Regions from separate parts of the Homo sapiens genome. Here region 1 is linked to region 2. The links are contacts of gene promoters, found by promoter capture Hi-C in human tissues and cell types (Jung and others, 2019). All regions are on one chromosome and are shown on one strand. Each heading gives the region's core, a stretch centred on a gene start or on the middle of the fragment in contact. The rest is flanking DNA. Distances are from core to core; before and after follow the strand shown. Region 1 overlaps TLK2 (tousled like kinase 2). Region 2 holds the start of METTL2A (methyltransferase 2A, tRNA N3-cytidine).

Region 1 (5,333 bases), core at 1,123-3,622, 58 kb after region 2:
CCCGGGCCCGCGTCGGGCGCCTGGCTCTGTACGCGAGCCCGGGGATCTGCGGCCTTCGTGCCCCCCCTCCCCCGCCCGCCCTCTCGTGGAGCCCGGCGCCGGCGGCGGCTGCCCGGGCGGGGGGTTGCGGCGCTCAGGAGAGGCCCCGGCTCCGCCCCGGGCCTGCCCAGGGGGAGAGCGGAGCGGTCCGCAGCCGGGTCGGGTCGGGGCCCCTCCCGGGAGGAGCGTGGAGCGGCGGCGGCGGCGGCGGCAGGTGAGAGGCTGAGCCCCGGGCGGGGGAGGACTCCAGGCCTGGGGCATTAACCGTCCTGGGGACCCCTTTGGCCTGAGGAGCCTGCGACCTGGGCCCAGCTCGGGGCCGGCTCCGGACCGCAGCTCCTGGGCGCTGAGGCGGGAGGGGCTCCCTGAGGGCTGCGGGTCGCTGAGGGGCCGGGCAGAAGATGGGGGAGGCCCAGGCGGCCCCGGCCTGGGATTGGGGCCGGCGGCCGGAGGAGAGACGGGGGCCCCCAGGCAGCTGGAGGCCTCGGCAGCCTCCCGGGCGCCCCCGAGAGCCGGCCCTCCCTTCCTCCGTGACAGGTGGGCCTGGAGTTGGGGAAAGTTTGGAGCCGGCGAGGGGCGCCGGGACCAGGCCCCATCGCTCCTGCTTCCCGGCTGTGGGCTGCAGGGAGGATCCCAGTCCAAGGCCCCGCTGGAATTAGACGGAGTGGCTATTTCCTTAACATGAGTTGACATTAAACGGAATAACCGCCGGGGCGTCATTTTCCGGGCCGGGCCTGGGGATGGAGGTTTGGGAAGTGTTGCGAGAGACCTTGGGGTTTGGGAGAGACTGCAACCTTTGCCATTCCGACCTCGATTAGGGCAGGGCAAGACGCGAGGAAGGCCACGGGGGAAACTCATTCTCCCAGTCTCTTTTTTTTCCTTCTTTTTCTTTTTGTAAAGATGCATTTCAACCTTTCTGAGAATTTCCTAATTCTCTCTCTAACCTGCACTTGCATGTGTGGGTGAAACTTTAATTTGTCACCTTTTCATTCCCCTTTGCCCCAGGCTCTCAATCCAGGAAGGGAAATGAAACTGAAGGACTTGTAAGGGGGTTGTTACTGGAGATTGTAGAGTTGTTGGATTGCAGAGGAGAATGTTCGATTCATCTTTTCAGTAACTTTAAAATCACACCAACCATTCCAACTACTTAATAATGTGTTCGAAGGGGTTCTATGTAATATGTTTCTTTTCCACTGTTAATATTAAAGAGAGGTTTTAAATGGGTCGTGTAGGAGTTGGTCTCTTGCAAAGGATGAACATATTTGCTGAAAGTAGCCTGTGCATTAATTGGTTATGGAAGTTTAAAAATGGTGTCCTCCTGCCCCTCCCTGCTTGGAAGAAGGGCTAAAAGCAGATGTCCAGAATCAAGAGAAAACTACTGCAGGGAGTGGTCAGAAAAAGATTTTTTAAAGGGATTGTTATGGAGCTATATTAATTTACTGAGTGAATGGAGGTGGATGGTTTTACCGTGGGCTCTCTATTAAATTTAAAATAATTCCTTTTCTCATGAGCTACTGTGAGCTCTTCAGAGACAGGAGCTGTATAATAGTGATTTTGCAGTTATTTGTAGCTTCTGATTCATCCTATATTCTTTTGAAATTATTGTCAATGATTCATATTTTTAGTTTAAGGACTACTTCCTGAGTGGGAAATAAATATCTGAAGATACTTAGCTAGATTAAGGCTGATAGAAGGAATTTTCTTTTTGCAGGCTAGTTCTTGTTTTGTTCTTTCCCCTGTGCTCAACTTTTACAGAAATTATATGAAGGGTTTGAGGGGTTTATTTTTGCTGTTAAAATCAAATCAGAACTAGGGAAGAAAAAGTGGCTGTCATAGAAGAGGACTTCTGAGCTGCTTTAAAACTTTTCAATATATTACTGTTTGATGCAGCACATAGTAGTCTACCACTTGTATGCTATATTTACTTGAGATTTACCTGCATTTGATCTTTCAGTGAAATAATTACTGTGAGTTTTGTTCTACAGAAAATTGCCTCCTCACATTTTAGTGTTTATGGTTTCACAGCCTACTTTTTCTTTTTCAGCAGAAATGATGGAAGAATTGCATAGCCTGGACCCACGACGGCAGGAATTATTGGAGGCCAGGTTTACTGGAGTAGGTGTTAGTAAGGTGAGTAAAATGATGATCATGAACACTATTCATATTCTAATTTAAACACATTTTTTAAATGATTAAGAGCAATTTGGGTAGGCCCTTCTGATAGTTTGCAGGGGAGAAGATTTGGGTCTTAATTTCAGTGAACTTTTAGATCCTACTGGTCATTCCAGTAGTCATTTAACATAGTAGGTTTGAAAATGTTCTATATGGGAATATATGTTTCTTCTTCCTTTCTGGTATAGGAGAGGTTTCTCATGGTTCTTGTTACAAGGAAACTAACAGGATGTGTGTATAGATTCTATGCCATATTTTGTTAAAACTTGTCAGCCATTCAGAAAGAAAATTACAAGGCATTGCATAGCTTTGTTACATTGGACTTTGGAGGTAGTTACATGGTAGAGTATTGAAAAATTGGCCTCTGTGAAGTCTGCAGACTCTTTACTGGTTGCACCCCCAGACTGGTTTGTTGCTCTTCTCATTCTTCCTTCTTAGTTTTTATTTTTGTTGCAGGAGCATAATATTAGATTAGGCCCCCATTAACGGGCACGTATGAAGTTAAGCAATGTTATAGTTTCCTATGCATGTTTATGTACCCACTGGTCCACCCCTCTGCTCTCATAGGATGATTTTACAATGTGTAAAATGTTTGATTTTAATACAGTATGCAAAGTATATTTACGATATTTTATTTAAAAGCTTTATTGGTCCAAGATCATATTACTTGGGCTTGAGATGTGTGAACGTATGAGCTACTGAATTTTTTTTTTTGAGACAGAGTTTTCCTCTTGTCGCCGAGGCTGGAGTGCAATGGCGTGATCTCGGCTCACTGCAGCCTCCACCTCCTGGGTTCAGGTGATGATTCTCCTGCCTCAGCCTCCTGAGTAGCTGGGATTACAGGTGCCCGCCACCACGCCCAGCTGATTTTTGTATTTTTAGTAGAGATGGGGTTTCACCATGTTGGCCAGGCTGGTCTCGAACTCCTGACCTCAGGTGATCCACCTGCCTCAGCCTCCCAAAGTGCTGGGATCACAGGCAGGAGCCACTGTGCCTGGCTGAGCTTTTGATCTTTAACCAGTGTGATACAACATTTGTTTCTGTGCTTTTCAAGAAATCCTGTCTCATGGTAACCTGGGTGTTGATCTCGTGCTTTAGTTAGTAGCTTCTCCAAGGAGAAGGCGTGTTGAGGTTTAGTTGGAAAAATGGGCTTCTTTGATGGGTCTCACAGTTTTGGTGAGCCGGGATAGCTTGATAGGGTTTTGTTTTTTTTTTTTTTGAGTCAGAGCCTTGCTCTGTCACCCAGGCTGGAGTGCAGTGGCACAATCTGGGCTCACTGCAACCTCTGCCTCCTGGGTTCAAGCGATTCTCTTGCCTCAGCATCCTGAGTAGCTGGGATTACAGGCATGCACCACCATGCCTGGTTAATTTTTTTTATTTTTAGTAGAGACAGGGTTTCTCCATGTTGGCCAGGCTGGGTCTCGAACTCCTGACCTCCAGTGATCTGCCTGTCTTGGTGTTCCAAAGTGCTAGGATTACAGGCATGAGCCACCACGCCCAACCAGCTTGATAGTTTTTGTTTATTCAACAAATATTGAGCACCTGCTGTATGCTAGGCATTGTGCAAGGTGTTAGGGCTGATGCTTGAGCACAGTACCTCCACATCTGCAGTATGGGGAGAGAGAGATGATACCGTGATGAGATCTGTATTAGAGCTGTGACAAGGTGCTGTGGGAACACAGGATTTGTTACATATTCTTAATTTCTTTGGCCACTTAAACAGTTTACTTTTGTGGCACTTTAGAGTGGCTGTGCCCCTGGACGTTGTATACTGAAGTTACATTTACAAATGTAAACTCTCTGATCTAGGTGAAGTAGCTTCAAATAGAAGTGAGCAATATATTTGAATACTAAATTGATCTCTAAATGACCTCTGATGTGTCTTTTTAACTTGAAGATTGAGCATAAGGCTAATGTCCAGATCTGTCTGTTTAAATGGTCCCCCCACCCCCGCCTCCCGTAAGTCAGTAAGTTTGTATTCAAATTTTACATAGTTAAGCTCACTGATCTTTGGATTAGGGTTGTTGTTCTGTTTTTAGGTTCGTGATGGCTGTATTCAAGTATACTTTTGATGGAGTAGGGCATAAGTGATAAGAATGAGTGACATTCAACATGTTGCTGTCTAGACCCAACTTAAAGTCATGTAACTAAGGTATCAGAAAACTTTAATACAGTAACCTATCTGTTTAATAGGAAATTCTACCTTTAACATAGAAAGAAGTTCTCTGTACAGAAAAAGAAATTTACCTATTTCCAGTTTTTTTGTTTGTTTTTGAGAGGGTCTCACTCTCTAGCCTAGGCTGGAGTGCAGTGGCACGATCTCGGCTCACCTCAACCTCCATCTCCCAGTCTCAAGCAATTCTCCTGCCTCAGCCTATAGATAGCTGGGATTACAGGCGTGCGCCACTACCACCCTGTTAATTTTTGTATTTTTAGTAGAGATGGGGTTTTACCATGTTGGACAGGTTGGTCTTGAACTCCTGACCTCAAATGATCCACCTGCCTCTGCCTCCCAGAGTGTTGGGATTACAGGCATGAGCCACTGCACCCAGCTTTATTTCCAGTTGTTTTTATTCCATTAGTTGTTTTTTTTTTGAGACAGAGTTTTGCTCTGTCAACCAGGCTGGAGTGCAGTAGCACAATCTCGGCGCACTGCAATCTCTGCCTCCCGGGTTCAAGCTATTCTCCTGCCTCAGCCTCCTGAGTAGCTGGGACTATAGGCACCTGCTACCATGCCCAGCTAATTTTTGTATTTTTAGTAGATGGGGTTTCACCATATTGGCCAGGCTGATCTCGAACTCCCGACCTTGTGATGTGCCTGCCTCGGCCTCCCAAAGTGCTGGGATTATAGGTGTGAGCCACTGTGCCCAGCTTAAGTAGTCGTATGTTACTTTGATATTTCCAGTCACGGTAAGTATATTGATTACAATGAATTTGTTATTTGAGGACTAGCAGGAGAGTATTTTTTTTTTCCATAACAAAGAAACTTGAAGAAAAAAATTAATTCTGTAGTTTGCAGAGCCGGGAAAAGAAAATCTCCATTTCGTATGACTTCTTTTTTTTTTGAGACAGAGATTCACTCTTGTTGCCCAGGCTGGAGTGCAGTGGCGCGATCTCAGCTC
Region 2 (5,629 bases), core at 2,847-5,346:
AAAGAATATTTCGAACAAAAGAATAATGTCCCCAAGTTATTATTAAGTTAAAAAGCAGACTACAACTGCTAAGTGGCATGGGAGAACTTCAAGGCGTTGTTCTAAAACTAGATTGTGACACTGATTACACAAATACAGATTTTTATGAAAATGTATTGAACTGTACACTTAAAATGGATGAATGTAATTGGGTTTTCTTGTTGTTGTTGTTGTTGTTGTTTGAGACGGAGTCTTGCTCTGTTGCCAGGCTGGCCTGCAGTGGCACGATCTCAGCCCACTGCAACCTCCGCCTCCTGAGTTCAAGCGATTCTCCTGTCTCAGCCTCCCGAGTAGCTGGGATTACAGGCACCCACCACTGTGCCCGGCTAATTTTATTTATTTATTATTTATTTATTTATTATTTATTTTTTTTGTGTGTGAGAAGGAGTCTCGCTCTGTCGCCCAAGCTGAAGTGCAGTGACACAATCTCGGCTCACTACAACCTCCAACACCCAGGTTCAAGTGATTCTCCTGCCTCAGCCTCCTAAGTAGCTGGGACTACAGGCGTGTACCACCACCCCTGGCTAATTTTTTGTATTTTAGTAGAGATGGGGTTTCACCATGTTGGCCAGGATGGTCTCGATCTCCTGACCTCGTGATCCGCCCACCTCGGCCTCCCAAAGTGCTGGGATTACAGACGTGAGCCACCACACCCAGCCTAATTTTTGTATTTTTAGTAGAGACGGGGGTTTCACCATCTTGGTCTGGCTGGTCTCAAACTCCTGACCTCGTGATCCACCCACCTTGGTCTCCCAAAGTGCTGGGATTACAGGTGTGAGCCACTGCGCCCAGCCAGATGAATGTAATTGTTTAAAAAAAAAAGCACAAAGCATTTTGTTCTGAAACTATTTTAATGTAAAGTCACTTACATAACTAAATTAGAAAGAAAGAACTGGGATGATATAAGCCAAAGCGTTAATGAGTCAAATTAATGGTGGGAAGAAGTATTTTCTTTTGTTTTATCGATATCTTCTAAATGTTCTATAATAAAAAATCTATTTTGCAATAAGAAAACACAGGCCAGGTGCAGTGGCTCATGTCTGTAATCCCAGCACTTGGGGGAGGCCGAGGCAGACGGATTGCTCAAGACCAGGAGTTCGAGGCCAGCCTGGGCATCATGGCAAAACACTGTCTCCACAAAAAATGCAAAAATTATTGGGGTATGGTGGCACAAACCTCTAGTCCCAGCTTCTCTGTTGGCTGATGTGGGAGAATCACTTGAGCCTGGGAGGCAGAGGTTGCAGTGAGCTGTGATCGTGCCACTGTACTCCAGCCTGCGTGACAGAGTGATGCCCTATCTCAAAGAAAAAAAGGAGAAGAAAGGCCGGGTGCGGTGGCTAACGCCTGTAATCCCAGCACTTTGGGAGGCTGAGGCAGACGGATCATTTGAGGTCAGGAGTTCAATATCAGCCTGGCCAACATTGTGAAACCCGTCTCTACTAAAATGCAAAAATTAGCTGGGTGTGGTGGCGATGGCCTGTAATCTCAGCTACTCAGGAGGCTGAAGCAGGAGACTGGCTTGAGCCCGGGAGGTGGAGCTTGCAGTGAACCGAGATCATGCCACTGCACTCCAGCCTGGGCGACAGAGCTTCGTCTCAAAAAAAAAACAAAAAACAAAAAAACACAATTAACTACCCTTGTCCTTGGCTAACAACCTAAAGCAATAATCCAGAATGAGAGTTTTTAACCTTTACAAGCGTTAAACCCATGCCACCCACTGAGCTAGAAGAGTTCTCCTTACTTACCACCAGAGGGACCCTTAGTTCCTCTGAAACGTGGCGTTTCTGAAGCTACAATCCAGTATAAAGTCTGACACCAGAGAACTCACAGCCATGTCAAACTTATGAAAAATTATTTTAGGTGCTTCGAAAAATAGGTTTTACAGGCCAATCAAATATAATTGTATAAAATTAAGTTTAGGCCAGGGGCGGTGGCTCACTCCTGTAATCCCAGCACTTTGGGAGGCCGAGGTGGGTGGATCATGAGGTCAGGAGATCGAGACCATCCTGGCTAACACGGTGAAACCCTGTCTCTACTAAAAACACAAAAAATTAGCCGGGCATGGTGGCGGGCGCCTGTAGTCCCAGCTACTCGGGAGGCTGAGGCAGGAGAATGGCGTGAACCCGTGAAATAGGGAGCTTGCAGTGAGCCGAGATCACGCCACTACACTCCAGCCTGGTAGACAGTGCGAGACTCCGTCTCAAAAATAAATAAATAAAAATAAAAAATAAAGTTAAGTTTAGGATACTTTAGCACATTTCACAGAAAAAAGGCCAAAGCTGTTTGACATTTAAAATGTCTCCACTGGAACTAATATAGTAAATTAGAGTGAAGACAATGAGCTGTCTGCAAGAAAATATGCAGTGGGACTGTTGATTGGGAACACTAACAGCTTTTAGTGAGGGGAGAATAAAAGCCCATAGATGAGAAAACAAGATGCCAGAAATAAATGTAAATCAACCACCATATCTGCAAACAGCTGGCCTTGAGAAAAGATAAAAATTCCTTGTACTTGTTTCTGGGTATGGAGCTTGTGTTCAAAATGTTTCCGAAGACCACAAGAATGGCAAAAGCATATTGTCTTCAAATGAAGTACAACTTATTTACTATTTTTTTTATTAACTTGTGTATTTTTCTTCCTGATTAGAGAGGCTTAGAGCTTGTTCCCATTTCTTTGGAGGAAAAAGTATAGAATCATTCATTGCTCCCCGTAGTTTTACCTACAGAAAGAATTTACAATGGAATAAACAATTACTGGCTGGGCGCGGTGGCTCACGCCTGTAATCCCAACACTTTGGGAGACCGAGGCGGGCAGATCATTTGAGGTCAGGAGTTTGGGACCAGCCCAGGCAACATGGTGAAACCCCATCTCTACTAAAAATACAAAAATTAGCTGAGTGTGGTAGCGCGCACCTGTAATCCCGGCTACTCAGGAGGCTGAGGCAGGAGAACCACCTGAGCCCAGAACATGGAGGTTATAACGAGCTGAGATCCGGCTACTGCACTCTAGCCTGGGAAACAGAGCAAGACTCCGTCTCAAAAAAAAAAAAAAGTACTAATTACCCATGTGCTATGTCTAGCACTGCACTAACCCTTTCCTTTTTTAAAAAAATTCATCTTTCCCTTTATTCTGACATTATGACATTAAATAAAGTCCAAGAGGTATTGGGCTGGTCCTTGTTTGGTCTCTGCCCTTTCCTTCTTTTCCAAGTGGTATTCATCATGCTTCTCTTGGAAGTCTTCTCAAATAACCTTATGTCTATAACATACTTTCTTCTAGATTCTTTTGAGAGTCTATTTGTGTTAGATCTAGAAATAGAAATGTAAGGCTGAAATGTATTACTATGACAAACTGTTTGTATGTGTGTATTACAATCTTAATTGTGCTAATAAGGATAATTATAATAAATATGCATGATTCAAAAAGGTTAGATGGTTATAATTTAAAAAAAAATTGTCCTTGGATATTCCATTTGATTTGCTAAGCCTCGTGTTCTCTAATTTCATATCTCCATCTCCCCCTACCCCAACCAAAATATATATACACACTGTGTATACATATACACCCACACTATTAAGAGCTGAATATAGAAGCTGGAAATTGCCCTGTTTCTTCCCGCTGCTTGCTACCTTCTTCAGTTCTGGACATCGGCTCCGCAGTGGAACTAGGTAGCCTCAACTCTTATAATGATTCAAGATTTTTCCTGTTTTATAACTTGAGGGAAGCTGGGGAACCTGTTAAGAGGATCCCAGCATTGAACTGGGTCTCAAGTGGAATGTCTCCCACTTTCTGCCTAACCTGCACGTCCATCAGCACCTCATCAATGAGAAACGACTCCTCCGGGGAGAATTTCCCCCTGCCTGGTCCCCTCTCCTAGAGAGCCCTTCGCCAACCCTGGGACAGCCCCAAACGACAGCTCCCGAGCGCCACCCGGACCAGACTCCAGTGCCGCCCTGTCCCGCCACCCTTTTTCCCGCCCAGACTCCGCGTCTTCTGAAAGAGGGCGTGGTCCGCAGGAAGTTCTCACGTTACGGAAAGTAAAGTGTTTCCGGCTCCGGTGTCATGGCCGGCTCCTACCCTGAAGGTGCACCTGCAGTCCTCGCCGATAAGAGGCAGCAGTTCGGAAGCCGGTTCCTGAGAGATCCGGCGCGCGTCTTCCACCACAATGCCTGGTAATCACTCTGCCCCTTCGCCCGGCCTGTCGCTGACCCTCTGTCCCGCCGCCTCGGAGCACTCCGAAAAGCCCCTGACCGCCGGCCACGAGTCAAGCTGCCCTACCCGAGGCACTCTCCAAGGGGAGAGAAACTCCTAGGCCAGCGACTCACCCTGCCCGCAGCCAGGACGTGAGGCCCCTAAGCTGCCCGTTTGATTTTCTCAGGGACAATGTGGAGTGGTCGGAAGAGCAAGCCGCGGCGGCGGAGAGAAAAGTCCAGGAGAACAGTATCCAGCGGGTGTGCCAGGAGAAACAAGGTGCGCTTAAATGGGCTCTCATTGGTATCAACAGCCAGCGTACTGCCGAACGCGCCCTCCCGGAGAGGCCAGGGAACCGCGGCCGCCCAGATCCTTTATTCCTGGCCTGATGCAGATCTCAGGAGTAGAGCGGGACAGGGAGGGGATGAGCAAGGAGAGAAAAGGGCTGCATTGTAACAAAATCTTAAGTCGTAGAGGGTTTTTTTATATATAGTTTTACTTTGGAGGAGGGTAATGTTGTCTTTAATTATGTTTAGTAGATCCACGTTGATATGGCTAGCCAATGACAACTGTGTGGTCACGCGATCATCTTAGAACCTGTACTTTTTACTTGATTTGCATTTTCCATGAGGAGATGTTTTCCATTGAAGCTTCATTGAAGTGATTAGATTCTAAATATTGTTGGGAGGGGGGCTAGTGACTGGTGACTGTGTGTCTATTACTTGTGTGATGGTTATGAGAATTTAGGGCTTTAGTCAAGGAAAGGTGGATGCAGCAGAGTGGAGATAAGTCTGGCCAAAGAAAAGGAGGCCCCTGCTTGAGAGGTGGATGATTTCACTGCAAAATATCCCTAGATAGTAAAACTAGGACTGATTGTTCCAGACAATTGAAGATAGGACTACAAATTTAGTACCCGCTGAAAGAGTTCTGTACAACAAAAAGATTCCAGTTACAAAACATTCACCCTGCATATTTTGACAGCAACTAGATCAAAGCAAGTTAATAGTTGAAAGGGATTTTGAAAATCATGTGGTTCAATATTCTCTTTTTATAGTTAAAGACACTTGGACCACAGGACATTAAGTGCTTTTCCCAGAGGTAAGCAGTCAGTAGTAGCAGTAGTGGAACTAAAATCCTGTTTCTTAGGGAGTCTTGGTTGATTCAGCAGGTGAGTTGTGAGTTGTTAACACACTTCTTAGTGGATTCCAACTTCCATTGTCACTGTCCTGCTCAATTTGTTAGGTTTTTATTCTTTCTACTACACTAGTCAAGGCCCCCTGAATTGGCAAGAGCAGTAAACTGAAATCTGGGACTGTCATGATCACCTTAAAAACAGCCTTCATTTAAACTGTCCATACTTTTTTTTTTTTTTTGGAGATGGAGTCTCGCTCTGTCACC

The links. The method cuts DNA at HindIII sites, captures the fragments that hold promoters and counts their contacts. A contact is called where the count stands out against the background at its distance.
Region 1: a fragment that was not itself captured here is called in contact with the fragment with the promoter of METTL2A in region 2 in 1 of the 25 tissues and cell types used here (hippocampus).

What each region holds. Positions count from the first base shown.
Region 1 is chr17:62,479,038-62,484,370 of GRCh38, forward strand. TLK2 (tousled like kinase 2) reads left to right here. Exons shown (of 22, transcript NM_006852.6): 1 at 1-253; 2 at 2,084-2,169. The coding sequence starts at 2,089. Among named protein-coding and RNA genes, the nearest start is that of TLK2, 2.9 kb to the left of the region's middle. RefSeq lists a silencer at 163-552. The HindIII fragment of the contact is 7,438 bases long and covers 1-5,333 here.
Region 2 is chr17:62,419,801-62,425,429 of GRCh38, forward strand. It overlaps METTL2A (methyltransferase 2A, tRNA N3-cytidine), which reads left to right and starts at 4,097. Exons shown (of 9, transcript NM_181725.4): 1 at 4,097-4,212; 2 at 4,419-4,510. The coding sequence starts at 4,103. RefSeq lists enhancers at 3,830-4,360, 4,112-4,481. The HindIII fragment of the contact is 20,157 bases long and covers 1-5,629 here.